Linked DNA regions of Homo sapiens: all the other regions are linked to region 3. The links are contacts of gene promoters, found by promoter capture Hi-C in blood cells and fetal thymus (Javierre and others, 2016). All regions are on one chromosome and are shown on one strand. The core of a region is centred on a gene start or on the middle of the fragment in contact, and the rest is flanking DNA. Distances in the headings are between cores, read along the strand shown. Region 1 has its middle 230 kb from the start of LINC02820. Region 2 has its middle 180 kb from the start of LINC02820. Region 3 holds the start of RASSF9 (Ras association domain family member 9).

Evidence for each region. The method cuts DNA at HindIII sites, captures the fragments that hold promoters and counts their contacts. A CHiCAGO score of 5 or more calls a contact.
Region 1: a fragment that was not itself captured here is called in contact with the fragment with the promoter of RASSF9 in region 3 in 1 of 17 cell types (erythroblasts); the score reaches 5.1 in erythroblasts.
Region 2: a contact is called between a fragment that was not itself captured here and the fragment with the promoter of RASSF9 in region 3, in 2 of 17 cell types (erythroblasts and megakaryocytes). The highest score is 6.2, in erythroblasts.

The regions. Positions count from the first base shown.
Region 1 is chr12:85,543,522-85,546,221 of GRCh38, forward strand. No RefSeq gene overlaps it. Among named protein-coding and RNA genes, the nearest start is that of LINC02820, 230 kb to the left of the region's middle. The HindIII fragment of the contact is 717 bases long and covers 1,067-1,783 here.
Region 2 is chr12:85,491,719-85,494,418 of GRCh38, forward strand. No RefSeq gene overlaps it. Among named protein-coding and RNA genes, the nearest start is that of LINC02820, 180 kb to the left of the region's middle. The HindIII fragment of the contact is 6,875 bases long and covers 1-2,700 here.
Region 3 is chr12:85,835,125-85,837,824 of GRCh38, forward strand. RASSF9 (Ras association domain family member 9) reads right to left here and starts at 1,285. Exons shown (of 2, transcript NM_005447.4): 1 at 1,031-1,285. The coding sequence starts at 1,077. The HindIII fragment of the contact is 4,697 bases long and covers 1,175-2,700 here.

The sequences.
Region 1 (2,700 bases), core at 175-2,674, 290 kb before region 3:
ATACTTTCCAAACTAAAGGAAAATGCTATAATAGAGTTATAAATGAAGAGACATATGGAGACAAGTTCCAATATGACTGCTAAAACCTGTTATATGTGTTTAATTCTCAAGAGATCTCAATACTTACAGATTGATTTTATTCTTTGAAATACCATTCAAAGTTACATTTTTTCAATGACAAATGCCCAATAGTGTTCATCTATATGATGTTTATTTATTGCTTCTTTTTATAAAAGATGCTAAAATATAAAAAAAACCTAAAGATGAAATACAGAAATATTTTAAAAGTGTATTGTTTTTAGCTATAGGGCCAATATTACAAGTGAGACAAAGATAGATGAACAGTAAGATGCCTATTTTTATTATTTTCTTTTTGGAAGTTGGATTATGGAAGAACAGTTTCATTCCTCTTGAAGCACCACAATCCATGTAACCAAAAACAGATGAGGTCTTCCTCCCTAGAAAATTTGAACTGATCCTTCATGGCATGTACCTCTACTTCACAGAGAGCTATAAAATTTATTCTGGCGGATACAAAGAATTTTAGTTATTTAATTATTGTAAACATTTATTAAGCATCTACTATATCGTAGATATTGTGGTAGGCATTGATATTCAAAAGGAAATTAAGCATTGTCTCTGACGTTGAAGAGTTCATTTCAAAAGAAAGATATATACAGATATACAGATGGGCCCCACTTAGGATGGTTCAACTTACAATTTTTCAACTTTATGATAGGTTTAACAGTTTATAACCCCGTTATAGCTTGAGGAGTATTTCTAATACATATTTACCTTATGATATGGTTTCGCTGTGTCCCCACCCAAATCTCATCTTGAATTGTAGCTCCCATAATCCCATGTGTCATGGGAGGGACTTGGTAGGAGGTAATTTAATCATAGGGGTGGTTACCCTCATGCTGTTCTCATGATAGTGAGTGAGTTCTCATGAAATCTGATGGTTTTATATGAGGCTTTTCCCTTTTGCTTGGCACTTCTCCTTGATGCTGCTATATGAAGAATGCTGTGTTTGCTTTCCCTTCCCTCATGATTGAAGGTTTCCTGAAGCTTCCTCAGCCATGCTGAATTGTGAGCCAATAAAATCTTTTCATTTACAAATTACCCAGTCTCGGGTATGTCTTTATTAGCAGCATGAGAACAGACTAGTACGCCACACAATGTAATAAGTGCTTAAACAGTGGCATATGTGAAAATAATTCTGTTGGACTATAAAGAAGAATAATATTCTGCCTGGTGGTCATGTGAGAGATATCATATGGAAACAGAGATCAAATAATGTCATTGCTGGAAGCGTGCTCTGAGCCAAGGAATGTGGGCAACTTCTAAAGCCTGGCAAGGGCAGGGAATTAATACTCTCTTAGAGCTTCCAGAAGGAACCAGACCTGCCAACAGCCTGACTTTAACCCAATAAGAGAGAGAATAAATTTGTGTTGTTTGAAACCACTGCATTTGTAGTGATTTGTTGCAGCAATAGGAAATGAATACAATGACCATAGGTGGTGGAATAGCTTTACCGAGTTGTGTTTATGCATCTCCTGGGATGTGAGCCACATGTAGTTTAAAAATGTATTCAAGTCATTGTCATATTCTCTCTTAAAAATGCCCCCTGCTACCTTCTCCTCCTCCTTCAATTCTTATGGGAATCATTGAGGTAAATCATTCTGAGTAAAAACAAGATTACCTTGAAACAGAAATATAGAGTATGAGCCCCAAGCATAATAATTTACTTATTCTTTGGTTGCCTTAGGTTTTGAGTAAGATAAGCTTAGGAGCATTTTTCTCGGAACTACTAGGGCTTGAAACTACCTTTGTCCCCACCCTAGCAAATACCATTCTATAACAGGATTTCCTTTGACCATTAGAGAAAATAATCTAAATTAGTTGAAACTTATAGACTTTGAACCTAAAGCTGGATGATGTAGTAGGGTTTAGTTTTTTTGGTATCCATGCTATATTTGAAATGTAGACGTATGATTTGTGGATTATTTTGTGCATGGGAACCCCAACACCTGAATTCGGGATCACTCTGAGGAGAGCTGCAACTGTAAATATATAGGCTCTCATGGTCATCTCTCCAGGACAGTCAGAGGCATTAGAAGTGTATTCTATCTCTTTATTGGGCCAAGACAATCTTTTTTAAAATCCAAAACTCTTTTCCAGCTCCACCTCTCAAACAACAACAAAATAATTCCCTTAATCACATAAATTTAGAATCCAGAATGATTTGTTTTTGAAGCCATAACTATCTAAATCTTGGCAAACCATATGTTGCAGTATAGTTACCTGCCTTGATGAGTTTATTTGAAACTTCGAGCTCCAAAAATACTTATATATGCACCCTGAAGACAAATTATTTAACTAAATATTTGGTCTGTTATTATTGTTAAAAGAGGGACAAGGCCAGGCTCATGAAATTCCATCAATCTGTGAAGGAAAAACAACCTTCCAAAAAGTTCAATTCCATAAGTAGAAGAACTATTCTTGCTATTAATAAATTCTCAGAGTGATAAAAAAATTTTATCCAGTTTTAAAAAAATTTCCAGTTTTAAAACTGGAAAAAATAAAGACCTAGACATTTTTCATTTAAAACAAATAGCTATAAAACCTTTATAAACAGAAAGAAACCAAAGATGCAAATAATAATGATTTCAAAAAAGTCAATGATAACAGCAGGAGAGA
Region 2 (2,700 bases), core at 197-2,696, 340 kb before region 3:
TAATGTGGTGCTGCTAGCTTTGTTCTTTTTTCTCAAGATTGCTTTGGCGATTCAGAGTCTTTTGTGGTTCCATATAAGTTTTAGGATTTTTTTTACTATTTTTGTGAAAAATGCCTCTGCTATTTTGATGGAAATTGCACTGAATCTGTAGATTGCTTTGGGCAATATAGACATTTTAACAATATTAGTTCTACTCCATTAACATGGATGACTATTTCATTTATTTGTGTCATTTTCAATTTCTTTCATAAATGCTGTATAGTTTTCAATGTAGATATTTTTCACCTGCTTGGTTAACTTTATTACTAAGTTTTTGTGTTTTTTTGTAGCTACTGATAGTTTGCTGTTAATACACAGAAACACTATAGATTTTTGAATGTTAATTTTGTATTTTACATCTTTATTGAATTTATTAGTTCTAACAATTTTGTTTTCAGTGGAGTTTTATATTTAAGGTGGTATAAATGTAAGACAGTGTCATTTGCCAATAGGAATAATTTAGCTTCTTCCTTTCCATTTTGGATGCCTTTTATTTCTTTCTCTTGCCTAAATGCTCTGGCGAAGACTTCCAAAACTATGTTGAATAGAAATGGTAAGAGTGAGCATCCTTGTCTTGTTCCAGATTTTAGATGAGATCTTTCCATTTTTTTCCAATTGACTATGAATGTTAGCTGTGGTTTTGCCATACATGGTCTTTATTATGTTGAGATACATTACTTCAAAACATAATTTGTTGAGTTTTTATCATGAAAGGATGTTGAATTTTGTCAAATGCTTCTGTGTATCTGTTGAACTGATCATATGGTGGTTTTTGCCCTTCATTCTCTTAATATGATGTATCATGATTTTTGATTTGGGTATGTTGAGCCTTCCTTGGATCCCTGGGATGAATCTCACTTGATCTTGGTGAATAATCTTTTTTAATGTGCTATCGAATTCAGTTTTTTAGCATTTCTTTGAGGATTTTTGCATTTATATTCAGCAAGGATAGTGAATTATCATTTTATTTTTGCTATATCTTTGTCTGATTTTGATATTATGGTAATTATGGCCTTATAAAGTAGGTTTTCAAGTATTCCTTTCTCTTCAGTTTTTTGGAAGAGTTAAGTCATCAGTTTCTGTAGGCAGCACATAGTTGGTTTTGATTGTCTATCCATTCAGCCATTATATATCTTTTGATAGGAGAATTTACATCATTTAAATTCAAGGTTATGACTGATAGGTTAGGACTTCTGACTGTAATTTTGTTAATTGTTTTCTATTTGCTTTGTAGATCTGTTGTTTTTTTCTTTTTTTCTTTCTGTTTGTCTCTATTTGTGGTTAAATGATTTTTCTTTTGTGGTATGTTTTAATTTCTTGTGTTTCATTTATTTTTTAAATCTACCATAGATTTTGCTTTGTAGTTACTATGATGCTTACAATAAACATCTTATAGTTAAAATAGATTATTTTAAGCTGATAATAACTTAACTTTGATTGCCAACAAACACCCACAATGAAAATCTCTATGCATTTCCTCAGCTGTCCACCTAACATTTAAAATTTTTAATGTTACCATTGTAATCTTTCTATATTGTATATCTCTTAACAAATTACTGTAGTTATTATTTTTAGTTTTGTCTTTTAATATCATTTATGTTAAAGTTATAAGTGATTTACACACTACCATTTACAGTATTAGAGTATTCTAAATTGGACTATGTACTTACTTTTACTAATTAGTTTTATACTTTCAGATATTTTTGTCTTACTCATTAGTAAGTAAGCTATTTCTTCAGCTTGAAGAACTTTGTTTGGCATTTATTATAGGACAAGTCTGGTGGTGATAAAATCCCTCAGCTTTTGTTTATCTGATTTATCTCTTCTTCATTTCTTTTTTTCCCTTTCTTTTTTTTTTTTTCTTTTTTTTTGAGACAGAGTGGCTCTGTTGCTCAGGCTGGAGTCCTGTGATGATGTCATGGCTCATTGCAGCCTCTGCCTTCTGGGCTTAAGCAATCCTCCCATCTCGGTCTCCCAAATAGCTGGGACTACAGACATATACCACCATGCCTGGCTAATCTTTTATTTTACTTTATTTTTTATAGAGATGAGGTTTCTCCATGTCATCCAGGCTTGTCTCAAACTCTTGGACTCAGGTAATCTATCTCAGCCTCTGAAATTGCTGGGATTAAAGGCATGAGCCACCATGCCCTGCCTCTTCTTCATTTCTCAAGCACAGTTTTGCTGGGTACGATATGCTTGGTTGGTAGTTCTCTTCTTTTTTTTTTAACTTTTAAGTTCAGGGGTACAAGTGCAGGTTTGTTACATAGATAAACTCATGCCATGGGGATTTGTTGTACAGATTATTTCATCACCCAGGTATTAAGCCTAGTGCCCATTAGTTATTTTTCCTGATATTCTACCTCCTCCCATCCGCCACCCTCCAAAAGGCCCCAGTGTGTGTTGTTCCCCTCTATGTGTCCATGTATTCTCATCACTTAGCTTCCACTTATAGGTGAGAATATGCAGTATTTGGTTTTCTGTTCCTGTGTTCATTTGCTAAGGATAATGGCTTCAGCTTCATCCATGTCCCTGCAAAGGACATGTTCTCATTCTTTGAGCACTTTTAATATTTTATCCCACTCTTTTCTGGCCTGTAATGTTTCTTCTGAGAGTCTGATGCTAGGTGTATTAAAACTCTCTTATATGTTATTTGCTTCT
Region 3 (2,700 bases), core at 35-2,534:
TATTACTCTATATTGTCATGTAGACACTTTAAAATAATTATATCATTTCCTACCATGTAATTGTATCCTTTTGAATCTGCACTGAGCAAATTATGACAAGTACAAACAGGCATGATTGAGAGAAAAGTGGTGGACAATCCCCTATGCCAAAATAAATATATTTTTAAAAAAATATAGCCCATGTCTAAATTTATTCTCAAGTTTTTGGCATGAAAACGTAACATTTGATGTGTAAATAAAATATTTAATAAGACTAAGACAGACATACTGTCCCTAGAAAAATACGTGTGTGTATGTGTGTTTTGAGTAACTTATTTATACTATGGGCATTTCAAGCTTGAAATATCAAATCAAATCAAAGTAAAACAGTAATAATAAGGATTAGAGAGGATAGCTGCTTGAATCCTTCTTTAGTGCTTAAAACTACCTAAAATTCTCAAAGATTTTTTAAAGAATCAATTCAAACAAAGTTTCTCTCCAGAGTGTTTCCACTTTGGGAACATTCCAGGTTTCAGGAATGCCTCACTCTCAGGGGAGCCAAAGCATTGTTTCTGAATTGTATCAGCAGTTTTATTTTTCATCCTACTTAGTGGCTATAAATACTAGTTACATCTTTATCAAAGTTTTAATTATTTCTACAATATTCTAAAGTTCTGTTGAAACAAAATGACACTTTTTATTGTACTACCCTCAAATGCCCAGGGCAACAAAAAAAGAAACTGTTTATGTTGCTAGTTGTGGAAACAGGACTGGTCAAAAGGGGAGAAAGGAGTCAAATATAATCACTCTTTATTCTCTGCGATCCTTGAGCTGGTCACTCCCATCATCAATACTGGGAGAATATCCTTACTATCTAGGTATTCATACTAGCCTAACTCCTTAGGCTAGGACTGTGTCCCCACGAAGCCTTTTTTTATCAGAATCTAACAACCACAAAACACATACTTTCACAGGTAGGGTCCAGAGTACACACACAAGACACACACACACACAGAGACACACACACACTTACTCACACGCTTGACTTTACCTGTTTTTATGCCGAGTCTTTAGCAAGTTTCTTCCAAAGGGAGCCATGGTCTGTCGGGCAAACGAATAAAGAAATTATCTTAAAGTGATCTGAGGGTGGGGGTGGGGGTGTCTGGATTTCCAGGGTGAAGGGAGGAGGGCTGGAAGCTTTCTCTTCTCCTCGGATGTTCCTGGCTTTCAGCTCATTAGTAGCCGGCTGAGAAAGTTGCTGGAAGTTGTGCAACTGCTGCTTAACTTTGAACTGCGGGATTGTTGTGGCTGCTGCACCTCTGGAGACCTGCCCAGCTTCAGCCTCGAAGAAGGCGTTTGGAAGCAGGAAAAGAAAAAAAAAAAAGAAAGAGAGAGAGAGGAAGGGAGGAGGACTCTATTGTGTTCTGTAGTTATTTGCAGACTTAAAGAACTGCCAACCCCACAAGCATGGTAATACCAATGGAACGGGAGTTTCACTCGATCTGGAAATCCCCCCTCCCCCGCTTTCCACACCCAACCACACAAGGTGTACTGAACACACATAAAAGGATTAAAAGTAAATATCCCCCAACTCCTGGTCAGCTCCAGTCTGTGAAAAGTCATCTGATCATGGCAAGCATGAGGGATTGCTGAGAACTCTCTTTGCCAACTCATTCGACCCCAGATCCCCTGCCAGGGTGTCAGGACTTTAAAATATATTAGGGAGAGGGAAGCTGGAAACCGGATCAAGGTGGACTCACAGACCACTTAGAATTGTTAAGTCCCTGAGTTCACGGTCTTAAGAGTTTCTTCCAGGCCCCTGCTCCACACTCTCAAGTTCATCTTGCAAAAGTCGAAGGACCTGAAGGACCACAGGGCTCCAGGGCTGATGCATCACAGTTTGGTCTAGGAACCAGCTGGAGTTTAGTGTTTGACTCCCAAGGCGTTTATGTTGACCCCTACCCCATCTTTGACATTCACTGGGCCTTTAGAGCCCTGGGAATTTCAGAGGAAAAGCAAACTGCTCCTGCCCCTCAAGGAGTAAAGAAGACACACCGAGGGGATCTGCTGGAGCTCGAAATGTGAAGTGGAAGTCTAAGGGAGGGAGGGCTTCATCTGGTCCCAGGAGAGCTCGAATCCAGAAGCAGGGCAGAGGAATGGAGATGGGAGAGTTCGGGTGCCTGTGGGAGGCCCAGCGCAGCTCCCACCAGGTACCTGGCACTCATGGGAAAGCACTATTTAGGGGCAAGGGCCAGGAGAGCTTTCTCATGGACGTGTTTTACTGGGATTTTGCCCCTCCTAAAACCACCCCACCACCCTCCACCCCGCCAGGCTTCTAATCATGGGCTTCCCAGGCAGACGATGAGGGAGGGAGGGAAAGGAAAGCCAACAAACTTGTGAGTTCTTTCTGAGCCTTGGCAAAGAATATGAATCGCTCCTACTTACTTTGGGAGTTTATCCCCTACCCCCAACAACACCAAACAAAAAAATAATCTCAAGGTCTTCCATGATTCTGATACACACTGATTTATGCAGTGCTCAGATAAATCATGTTTTTCATTATTTATTATCATAATCTTTCTCTATTCATCTATATTTCATGTTTCTGTATGTGCATATACACATGTGTCCTATACTATTTCATTATTTATAATATTTTCTTTATAATTTTATATAATAAATCATATATTATATCCATATATGCACCCAAATCATTATGAA